2 separate regions of the Homo sapiens genome follow, and region 1 is linked to region 2. The links are contacts of gene promoters, found by promoter capture Hi-C in human tissues and cell types (Jung and others, 2019). All regions are on one chromosome and are shown on one strand. The core of a region is centred on a gene start or on the middle of the fragment in contact, and the rest is flanking DNA. Distances in the headings are between cores, read along the strand shown. Region 1 has its middle 14 kb from the start of MIR4788. Region 2 holds the start of AMOTL2 (angiomotin like 2).

Region 1 (5,088 bases), core at 1,014-3,513, 49 kb before region 2:
TGACCTCCCAGGCTCAAACGATCCTCCCACCTCCTCCTGAGCAACGGGGACTACAGGCACGTGCCACCATGCCTGGCTAAATTTTTTATTATTTTTTGTAGAGATGGGGCCTCACTATGTAGCCCAGGCTGGTCTCAAACTCCTGGGCTCAAAGATCCTTCCACCTCGTCCTCCCAAAGTGCGGGGATTATAGGTGTGAGCCACTGCACCTGGCTTTAACCTGAACTCTTAACAGACTAGACAAGCAACTCACACCGAGAGCTATCCATACTTAAGCAAGAGAGTAAAATGGGACAGAGCACATATATATACAAATACGATGAGCCAGGCGTGGCGGCTCACGTCTGTAATCCCAGCACTTTGGGAGGCCAAGGTGGACAGATCACCTGAGGCCAGGAGTTTGAGACTAGCCTGACCAATATGGTGAAACACTGTCTGTACTAAAAATACAAAAATTAGCTGGGTGTGGTGGTGTACGCCTGTAATCCCAGCTACTCGGGAGGCTGAGGCAGGAGAATCTCTTGAACCTGGGAGATGGAGGTTGCAGTGAGCCGAGATCGCACCATTGCACTCCAGACTGGGCAACAAGAGTGAAACTCTGTCTCAAAAAAAAAAAATAATGATGTACAGCTTAAATTTTCTTTCCTTGTCTTTAAAATACACACACACACACACACACACACACAGAGGTTTCTTTATATTTGGGAAATTTTTTTATACTCTCTGGTGGGTAAAACAAATTAATGATGTTATATTTCATTATTGCAAATAACTTTGGAAGAGAGGATTGATCCTTGATCGCTGGTGTGGTGTTTTCAGAAAATCTTTCCATTTTCTTAACTGAAAGCTGTGTCTCTCCCCAGAGGGCAGGGAATGGGCAAGGCCCCAGGAAGGAAGCACCTGCCCTCACACCGAAAGGAATGTCTCAGCACTGCCCGGTGTGCATTTGCTTCCTTGCCGTCCCTCCTGCCATTACTACACTTCTTACTATGGCAGAGGGCCTACTGTCCCTGAGTGCTCAGTGCCAGGCCCAGGATCTTCAAGAGACAGCGTGAGAAGGCATGCAGCATAGAAGGGTGGATTGCCGGGTAGAACCGTGAGGCCCTCAGAGGGGATGTGGGAAGCCTGGGAGTAGCAATGGGCATTGAGTTACGTAGGGAAGATGGAAATAAGAAATATAGGCAAGAAGAGAAAGAAATTAGCATTTTTTGAGCACCTACTAAGTGCCAGGCAACATACAACAAGAGGAATCAATTACATGGGGCCCGGTAATTTACCAGGCACTTTCCTACAATCTCTCTCCCTCTCTCTGTCCCATTTTCCATAACGCTTTTCACCTCTGAGTGTCAGATTATATATGCATCTACTGATTTACTTGTTAACTGTCTGCTCCAATGGAATGTAAATTCACAATGATATTTCTGTAGGTCTAATGTACTGCTGAGCCTAGCACATAGCAGTTTAGAGTTTAGTCAACAGTCATTCAGTGAATAGATAAATAAAATCATCATGATAACTTTTTTGAGAGGGATCTTCTTCCACTTCTTCCCTCCATGTCATCTGCCTTATCCATGAACATTATTTCATCTGGTCTTTACCACACTATTGTAAAGGTAAGTTCTCTTTTTTAGAGTGAGGAGGTTTGGGCTCCGAGAGGGCAAGTGTCTTGCTCAAGGTCACTCAGCAAGTAACTGTCAGAGATCAGATTTGAACCCAGGACTCTCTGCCATCTTTCCCCACAAAGAGAGAGAGCAGTTCAAGGACATGCTGAGAAGCAAGGGCAGATGATACCCACTGTTACAGCTGCCCCTAGACAGATCCCAATGCTCTGCAGTGGTGAGGAAGAGTGTGCCAGCAGGACCTGAGGATCTGGGGCAGTCCCTGAGCCCTTGAGCTCCAGCCTTCTCATCTGTAAGATGAAGGCTTCAACTAGATGAAGGCTGAAATCCCTTGCAACTCTGAGATGCTAAAACATGATCTTCTTTGTGATCATGGACCTGAGCCAGAGGACTTGTGCACTGAATTCCATCTTTCCCCTACGTCTGTATATAGTGCCCAAAGTCCAGCTAGTTCATATGGACCTTTGTCACACAGGGGCATAGTGGAACTGGGGTGGGCTAAACCAGAGGCAGAGAGGCCTGACCACAGTGGGGACAAAGATGAACATTGAGGCAAGGGCAAAGGGGGATTGTATGGGGAAGGAAGACGCAACAGAGAGGGGAGCAGGGGCCAGGCCAGAAGCATTCTGGGTGGCCTCCCTCAAGCCATCCCCATGTCCCTGCAGGTAGCTCTTGCCTCCTCTTCCCTTTCCTGTCATTCTCTCTTTATCACTCTACTGCACTGGACAGAAGACAGAACTGAGTGTATTCCCTTGCTTTTTTCCCCATGCTGGATAGTCCTTGCTCTCCATTTCAGAAGTGAACTGGCTCTACATTTTTCTTTCAAGCCCATTTTTCTTCCATATGGCTTATGTTTCTGCCAATGAACCTGACTGACGCCTTTTCCCTTGGATCAGTATCCTTAGCAGGGTCTCTGGTGTCTAGGGCCCTGTCAGCAGCTCCCTGCATAGTGTGAAGATGCTGTCCCCATGAGAGTGCTTAGCATGAGGCAGCTTCCTTGGGGAACACACCTCTCGCCCACACCTGATGGGTGCACCCTTGAATAGTGCCCTTCACTGCCCACCCTTGCCCTCTGCTCCACCTTTGCTTTGCATGGCAGACTAGGGATTAGGTGACTTGCATTGTGGACTGGGGATCCCTGGGAGCTGAGCCAATGCCATCTGTTGTGGCTGTAATCTGACACCCACATCAGGGGGGGCCTGATGCTGCTCTGAGCCTGGTTGGTGGACATCCCTCTTCCATCAGGCAACACAAAACACCCTCCGTAGGGGCAAACCCCAGCCAGGCAGATGGGACAGAGCCAGATGTGACACCCCACATCACAGTTGACATACTGCTAGCTCCATCCTTGCCCCAGAGTGAGTGGCCTTCTGGAGATGACCAGATGTTTGGGCTCCCAGGGATAATCCCAATTCAAATGGCAGTCCTGAGCCTTCCAAGAACTGGACCCTGAAGGTCAGGACAGTTCAGGGCTGCAGAGGCTTGCCAGGGAGACGTCCACTGTCTGGGGAGAGGAAACAGCTTCCTGGGTGCAGGCTGAGAGGAGAGGGGCCCAGACACACCTGGGAAGGGGCTTCACACAGAGGCAGAGGTAGTGGCAGTGAGGCCCAGGAGACAGTAGTCCTGAGAGCAGAGGTGTCCACAGGCAGAAGTGAGATTAATTAGTACAGGGAAAGTGGCCAGGGCTAGAAAGGATGGCTTTTCTGGGAGAGAAAGGGCCTTGAATGTAGGATCAAGGGACATAGGCTTTTTCTTGCAGGAAGTGGGACACAACCTCATGATTTCCACCCCACCCTCCAGCTTTTCTATTCATCTTCTTAAGAACCCAGGTGTATTAGGCCATTCTTATGTTGCTATAAATAAACATCTCAGGCTAGGTAATTTATACAGAAAGAGGTTTACTTGGCCTATGGTTCTGCAGGCTTTACAGGAAGCATGGTGCTGGCATCTGCTCAGTTTCTAGGGGGACCTCAGGAAGCTTCCAGTAATGGCAGAAGGGGAAAGGGGAGCAGGTGTCTCACATGGAGAGAGCAGGAGCAAGAGAAGGAGAGGGGGAGAGTGCCACACACTTTTAAACAACCTGATCTTGCTAGAAATCATTCTCTATTGTGAGGACAACACCAGGGGGATGGTGCTAGCCCATTGATGAGAAATCCACCCACATGATCCAATCATCTCCCACCAGGTCCCTCCTCCAACACTGGGTATTACATTACAACATGAGATTTGGTGGGGACAAATATCCAAACTGTATCACTAGCTATAGAAAGAACTTACTTGACAACAAAAGAAGTATAGCAAAGGCTTTGTGCCCTTGGGATTCACTGGTCTTACCACATGCCCCATCACCCAGAAGCAGCAGGCCAGATAGGATAGTGGAAGGGCCTGCTGAAAACCCAGTCACAGCTCCAGTTGGGAGAAAACACCCAGCATAGGCTTTGACTCAACAACGAGTATATGATGCTGCTTTCCCCATAGCCAAGATACTGAAGTCTGGGAATCAAGGGCAGAAGTATGAGTGACTCCTCTCACTATTACAGCCAATAATCCATCAGCAATGTTGCTTCCCATCCCAACTTAGAGCCCTGCTGGTTTGGAGGTCTTAGTCCCCAAAGGGAGGGCACTCTACCAGGAGACACAAACACTGATTCCATTAGAATGGAAGATGGGACTGCCATGTGGCCATTTGGGGATCCTTGTGCTACTGAGCCAGCAGGCAGAAAAAGGGGTTACTTTACAGGCTAGGATGACTGATCCTGATTACCAAGGGGAAACTGGGTTATTGCTACACATGGTAGCACTATGGTAAGGGGCACTATGCCTGGAACTCAGAGGATGTCCTAGGGTGCTTCTTGGTATATCTATGTCCATGTCCTATGACTACTGCCCAGAGATGGATACCAGAAAGGTAGGATGTTTTGTATCCTGATTTTGATGGAGGTTGAGTGCATCTTTGTTTTTCTGAAGGATAATTGCATCTTATTATATGGAAGCATAAGACGGTAAAAGTTAATGAAAAATTTCAACAACCAAAAACACATCAGGGCCACTGAGGACTCAGACCACCTAGGCACAAAGGTTTGGGTCAGCCCATCAGGTCAAGAACCCCAGCCATCTGAGACTGTAGCAGCTATGCTTGTGTGTGTGTGCGTGTGTGTATTCCTCCATTCTTCCTCCCATTTTTATTTTATGTGAGGATTGCCATTGGTAGTTACCTGTAAAATTTGGTCTTAGGTTATGAAGTAATTGGGTAGGACTATGACAGAATTAGAGAAATAATTAACATCACCCAGAGGTAGGTTCTATGACTACTACCCAGAGATGGTTACAATAACGGGGGGATGTTTTGTATCCTGATTTTGATAGAGGTTGAGAGCATCTTTGTTCTTATGAAGAACAGAGAGTTGGATCTTATTATATGGAAGCATACAGTTGTAATTGTTATATGGAAGTTGAAGTATTAACAAAA
Region 2 (5,243 bases), core at 2,405-4,904:
TGTGTAACCTCACCATTCACAGGAATCCTCTTAGCCCTGGGCTGGCAGGGGCACCAGAAAGAAGCAAAGGGCCACAGAGGAAGGCCAGGGGCTCAAGGAATGTGTGCAGTTTGGAGAGGCAGGGCTTCTTCTTCTTCTTTTTTTTTTTTTAAACAGAGTCTCACCTGTCACCTAGGCTGGAGTGCAATGGAGCTATCTGAAGTCACTGCAACCTCTGCCTTCTGGATTCAAGCTATTCTCCTGCCTCAGCTTCCTGAGCTAGGATTGCAGGCGTCCACCACCATGCCTGGCTAATTTTTGTATTTTTAGTAGAAACAGGGTTTTGCCATGTCGGCCAGTCTGCTCTCGAACTCCTGACTTCAGGTGAACCACCTGCCTTGGCCTCCCAAAGTGCTGGGATTACAGGCGTGAGCCACCGCACCTGGCTGCTTCTTCATTTTTTTAGGACAACATCCTCTTACCTAAACCACTGTGGGGCTAATTTCATAAATCTCCAACTCTGGAGGATTTAACCCCCAAAGACACAGACCCCATGAGGCCCTTTGTGCATAACGGAGATTCCAGACCTGAAGCATGAGAGTGAAAGGGAGAGGGGGCAGCAGTGGAAGGAGGAGACTTGGGGGAGAAAACCTAGAGGCAGTGATGAAGGCAGGGGAGGAGAAAGGGGTGAAGGGGGGACAGGGGTTTGCAGAAGGACAAAGAGAAGAAAGTCCCCCACTTGGGTCTTCTTCTGTTCTTGGAACTGGAGCACTGGAACTTCCATCCTAATGTTCAGATTCTTCCTATGAATTTGCTTCATGCTCCAGATTCCGGTAGGTTTCCTGTTTCCATAACCTGTCAGAGGGAGTGTTCAGGGGAAGCTGGAAAAGTGAATTTCACAACTAACAGTCATCCTTTGATCTTGCCACCTGCACCCTGGAGCTCTCCTCCACTAAGCAACCATTTGGGAAGTAAGGGGAACATTTCCTTCCCGGCTCCATGGGAGGAGGCTGCTAGGGTCCCACCAAGAACTCACTTTCATGTTCTGGTTGGGTGCAGTGGGATGCAGCTGCAGGGCCAGACTGAGGCCATAAAACAGGCACAGACCCAGACCGGGGCTAAGGAGAGGCGATGGTGTGGGTGCCTGGATCCCTTGCTAAGCCCTGTACACACCTATGATGCAGCCACACCCCAAGGAGCTACACTTCCTAGAGCAAAGGCCTCCAGCCTGGCTTACTCTGAGAATTAGGTCACCTCCGCATCTTTCCTGGATAGGATTCCTGACCCAGCCAGCCACATTGTCATCTGGGAAGAATCATAACCTGTAGGAGGAAGAGAGGAGGTAAAGGAGAATGGGACAAAGTAGATTGAGACAAAGGTGGAAGAAGAAAGCATTGGCTCACTAAGAGAGCCTCTCTCCCCTCTGCTGTAGGTGAAGATTCATATGCAAGCAGGCTGGCCGGCCCAGTGTCCCCTGTGCACATCTGCCTCTGGCACATCTGAACAGTGGTCACCTTCTCCACCAACTATCCTGCAGAGCTGGGGTGGCCGCCAGCTTAGGTAGGCTCCACCGCAGGCCATGCCTGACAGATCTTGCCTTCTGTTCTTTCTGCAGAGAGAAAGGGAAAGGAAAAATAAAAGTACATGCACATTTCTCATTTAGGTTTTGGGATCCCTCTCCCGCTTCTGTCCCTTTGGGGACAGAAATTAGCAATCATGGGGGCCTGTGTGGCTCTGCAGCAGGCTTGTCCACTCCAAGATGTACCTCCTTCACCCTAGCTGCCTTGAACTGACGCCTTTCTGCAACCATCTCAAGAATATTTGTCAAACATTTTGTCAGGTATCCTCCCAAATGCCTGAAAGACAGGACTGTACCATGTGGTCTTTCCCCTGGTTTTACAACCCGAGTGCACATGTCCACAACCACTCCCCTGCCTCCACCAATTATGCTGTCCATAAGGTAAGGCCACTCAGAGACCTCTTTCCTTTCACTTCTAAAATTCCTACCTACAGTGGTATACTGATCACAGCTTCTCTTCGTAAGGGGATCCTTGGAAAGACAAATATCCCGTAGCTTGGCACAAATGATCCATTTGCTCAATCATCTCAGATCCAATCACTGTTTGAAACACAGTATTTGACTTCCAAGTAAAACACACACGTGCGCACACACACACACACTTTTTGTGAGTTTTATTAAAAATTAACAATGTCCCTGGCAATTAAGCTTGCAGAATTTCCTTGTCCTTGTTTCCCTCCAGTGAATTTGGGACTTGCAAACTCCATGCTGATGGGAGGACCCAGCCAGGGGTAGAAATCAGCCCTGACTCTCTGGGTGGACAGGGGCCTGACTGCCCCCACCTCACCCCAACTGACTTGTAGAGAGGGCTTGTGTGATGGGGAACGGGGACAGCATGTGTCAGAGCGAGCTTTCTGAAGAAGGGGTTTCCATCTAGCAGTGGAAGTGTCCTGGGGGCAGAGGAGAGGATTCCATGCAGGAGCCACAGAAGTGGGTACAGGGGAAAGCCCCTGGCTGGCAGGGGTGTAGGGGGAGGTAAAGAAGAGACTAAAGCAAGGACAGGGTAAGTGGAGAGAGGAGGGCTCCCAGTGTCTGCCCTGTCCATCTAGGGAGCCTGGATTCTGATAGCCAGGGAGGGGTTTTGAGAATGAGAAACCAAGCAGCCCAGTGGTTGATTACCTGGTTCTCACTGTGTGTGACTCTGGGCACGCTGCTTAAGCTCTCTGAGCCCTGGTGTCCTCATTTACAACACAGGGATGATAACAGAACTCCGTTGGAGGGTGCTTGGCAGGGCTGAATCGGATGACTGGGCGAAAAGCCAGCGGTGGCACACCTTGCACTCTGCGTAAAGGGGCGCCTATTATCACCTTGGGGAAGAACTGGACAGAGCGCCTGGCGGCGGGTGATTCAGTTGGGTAGGTGGGTCAAATTGACCGGATTTTCCAACCCAGATTCACACTTCCTGTCGAGACGGTCGTAAAATAGCTGGCGAAGGTGTTTGTAAACAAAAGTGCATTCAAAGGTTGCCGCTGGGGGTGAAAACAGCGGGGGTTAGGGGAAAGAGGCTCTGTGGCTGGAAGCATTCACTTAGCCCGGGGCACTGTCCCAGCCCAGAGGATATGGATGTCTTTGCAGTCCCTCCTCCCTTTCCCACCTCCCCCGGTACACACACACGCACACACACACACACACACACACACAGCCGGAGTCCCCTCCCGCAGCAACCCCAGGACACGCGTGGTACAGCCCTTGCTGTCGTCCCGTCGATGGGTTTAGGGATGAAGGGTGAGAGCGGGTCGGCGACTGGGAGTGGAGGCGATAATGGGCAGAGTTGGATTAAATTGTCTCCAGCAGCTCCGAAGGCAAAGCATGGGGCAGGGGCGGACACACCGCGGCCTGGAGGGCGCTGGGCGCGGAGGAACGGAGCTCGGGGGCCGGGCCGGCGCTCGGCCAGCAGCGCCGCCTCCCCGGAGGAAGGCGGGGGCCGGGAGGAGGGAGCGGGAGAAGGCGGAGGGCGGAGGAGGGCGGTGCGCTGAGAGGTTATTTGTGGTTCGCTTTGATCCCGAGGGGGAACCTGAAACTCTCACATTCCTGGCATAGCAGCCGCCTCCGGCGCGGGCCGACCCTGGGGCTGCGCGCTGGGGCGCGAACAGCCAGAGCGTCGGCGCCACGGCCGAGAACACATCTTCGCCGCCGAGCTGAGCTGGGCCGAGCCGGAGGTTGTGGTGTCTGACTGCGCTGGGCACCCTCGGGCCGCAGCGGTAAGGAAGGCCGCTCGGCGCTCGGGAGAGCGCGCGAGGCCACAGAAACGTGCCCCAGCCAAAGCTGGAGTCTCGGCGCAACCCGGCCTTTTCCGGGAGTCGGAGCCTCGAGGATCGAGCGTCCTCGGGGCGCAGTGCGCCCTTTCGAGGCAGCCGCAGTGCCTGGCAAGGGCCGCTCTGCCCAGGGAGCGCAGCGCGCTGGGCTTTGCGGGGCTCTAGAAACGCGCGGGTCTCTTGGGGCTGGGGGAGAGGGGAGAGGGCCGACTCCGGAGACAACAGCCACAGTGTTTCGGGTTGCAGGTCGGCGGGGGTGGGGGTGGCGGGGGACAGGGATGGAGGCGCCGCTTGGAGCTCAAGTTGCAGGGTCCTGCGGGCTGATTTGGTTAGGTGGGGGTTACAGGTGCCTTTGCCCCCAACTAGTCCAAGAATTCCTCTTTGTCTTCCTTGGAAAATCCTCTCTGGAGCCACGAATTGGCCCTCACTTAGAAAGAATGCAGCCTGCTGTCCAGCCCGGTGACGTCAGCGTTAGAGTATTTGGAAAACAAAGAGGGCTCGAGAGGGAGGGAGGCGGACCCGCGATGCTTAAAGACCTCTCCGGGCCTCGGGCTACCCTCACCGGCTCGCCCCAGGCGTACCAGCGGCCACCGGTGCTCCAGGTCCGCCCGGGCTCGTGGTGGGGCGGGAGCCCTGGCTGGGGTGCCAGAACCTCCTAGCTTGGAGACTGTCTTTGGTTCCTTAGGCGAGCAGGAGCCCAGGCCAAGGCTGGAGACGCGCGCTGGCTTAGAAAGGCGGCCTTCAGAGAGCGCAGCGGGCGAGTGCAGCAGAGGTTCGCGGCCGGGGGCGCGGAAGCAGGTTTTTGTAAAGGCCCAGGCGTTTGATGTCTGAAAGGACGTGAATCTGAGGGGCTTGGCCGGGACAAATTCGCGATGAGAGGCCTTGGAGATGTTCCTTGCTCCCAGTCCGGGCACACTATGGAGCGCCTGGAATCTGTCAGGAAGGCTCCGCATTCCTTCCTGCCGCTCCCCTGCCTTCTCTGTGGGAGTCGGCCCAGAGAGTGATTATCATAGGAAATGCCCGCAGATAAAACTCCAGGGCGAACTGAATCCCATACGAATTGAATCCCATTTGCTTGCTTTGCCTCGGGTAGCTCTGGAGTCTTGCACATCTACCCCTCGTTGTGTGTGGGGGGCGCATGACTGGGTGCCAGGAAGGATGGGTACAGAGGTGCCCTCCAGACTCATCCCCCACTCCCCAGCTCTGGGCAGCTGGAGTACTGGGGTGGGGAGAGGGAAAAGATCGGGAATGGCTGCTCTGCCAACATGCCATAGCCCAAACTGAAGCAGGACACTAGGGCTAGTTTAGTGGCAGAGGAGGGGCCACATTCCTCCCACCCACCCCCCCAACCCCTGCCCATACACACAGGACCTGTGGCAGTGTGGATTCTGTTTAGTTTTCCCTGGATCCCAGTTTGGAGATTTGTGTTG

What was found. Contacts are between HindIII fragments. The study calls those that stand out against the background at their distance.
Region 1: a contact is called between a fragment that was not itself captured here and the fragment with the promoter of AMOTL2 in region 2, in 1 of the 25 tissues and cell types used here (stomach).

The regions. Positions count from the first base shown.
Region 1 is chr3:134,421,047-134,426,134 of GRCh38, reverse strand. No RefSeq gene overlaps it. Among named protein-coding and RNA genes, the nearest start is that of MIR4788, 14 kb to the left of the region's middle. The HindIII fragment of the contact is 8,360 bases long and covers 1-5,088 here.
Region 2 is chr3:134,372,858-134,378,100 of GRCh38, reverse strand. It overlaps AMOTL2 (angiomotin like 2), which reads left to right and starts at 3,654. Exons shown (of 10, transcript NM_016201.4): 1 at 3,654-3,759. RefSeq lists enhancers at 1,997-2,794, 2,795-3,594, 3,595-4,394. The HindIII fragment of the contact is 13,073 bases long and covers 1-5,243 here.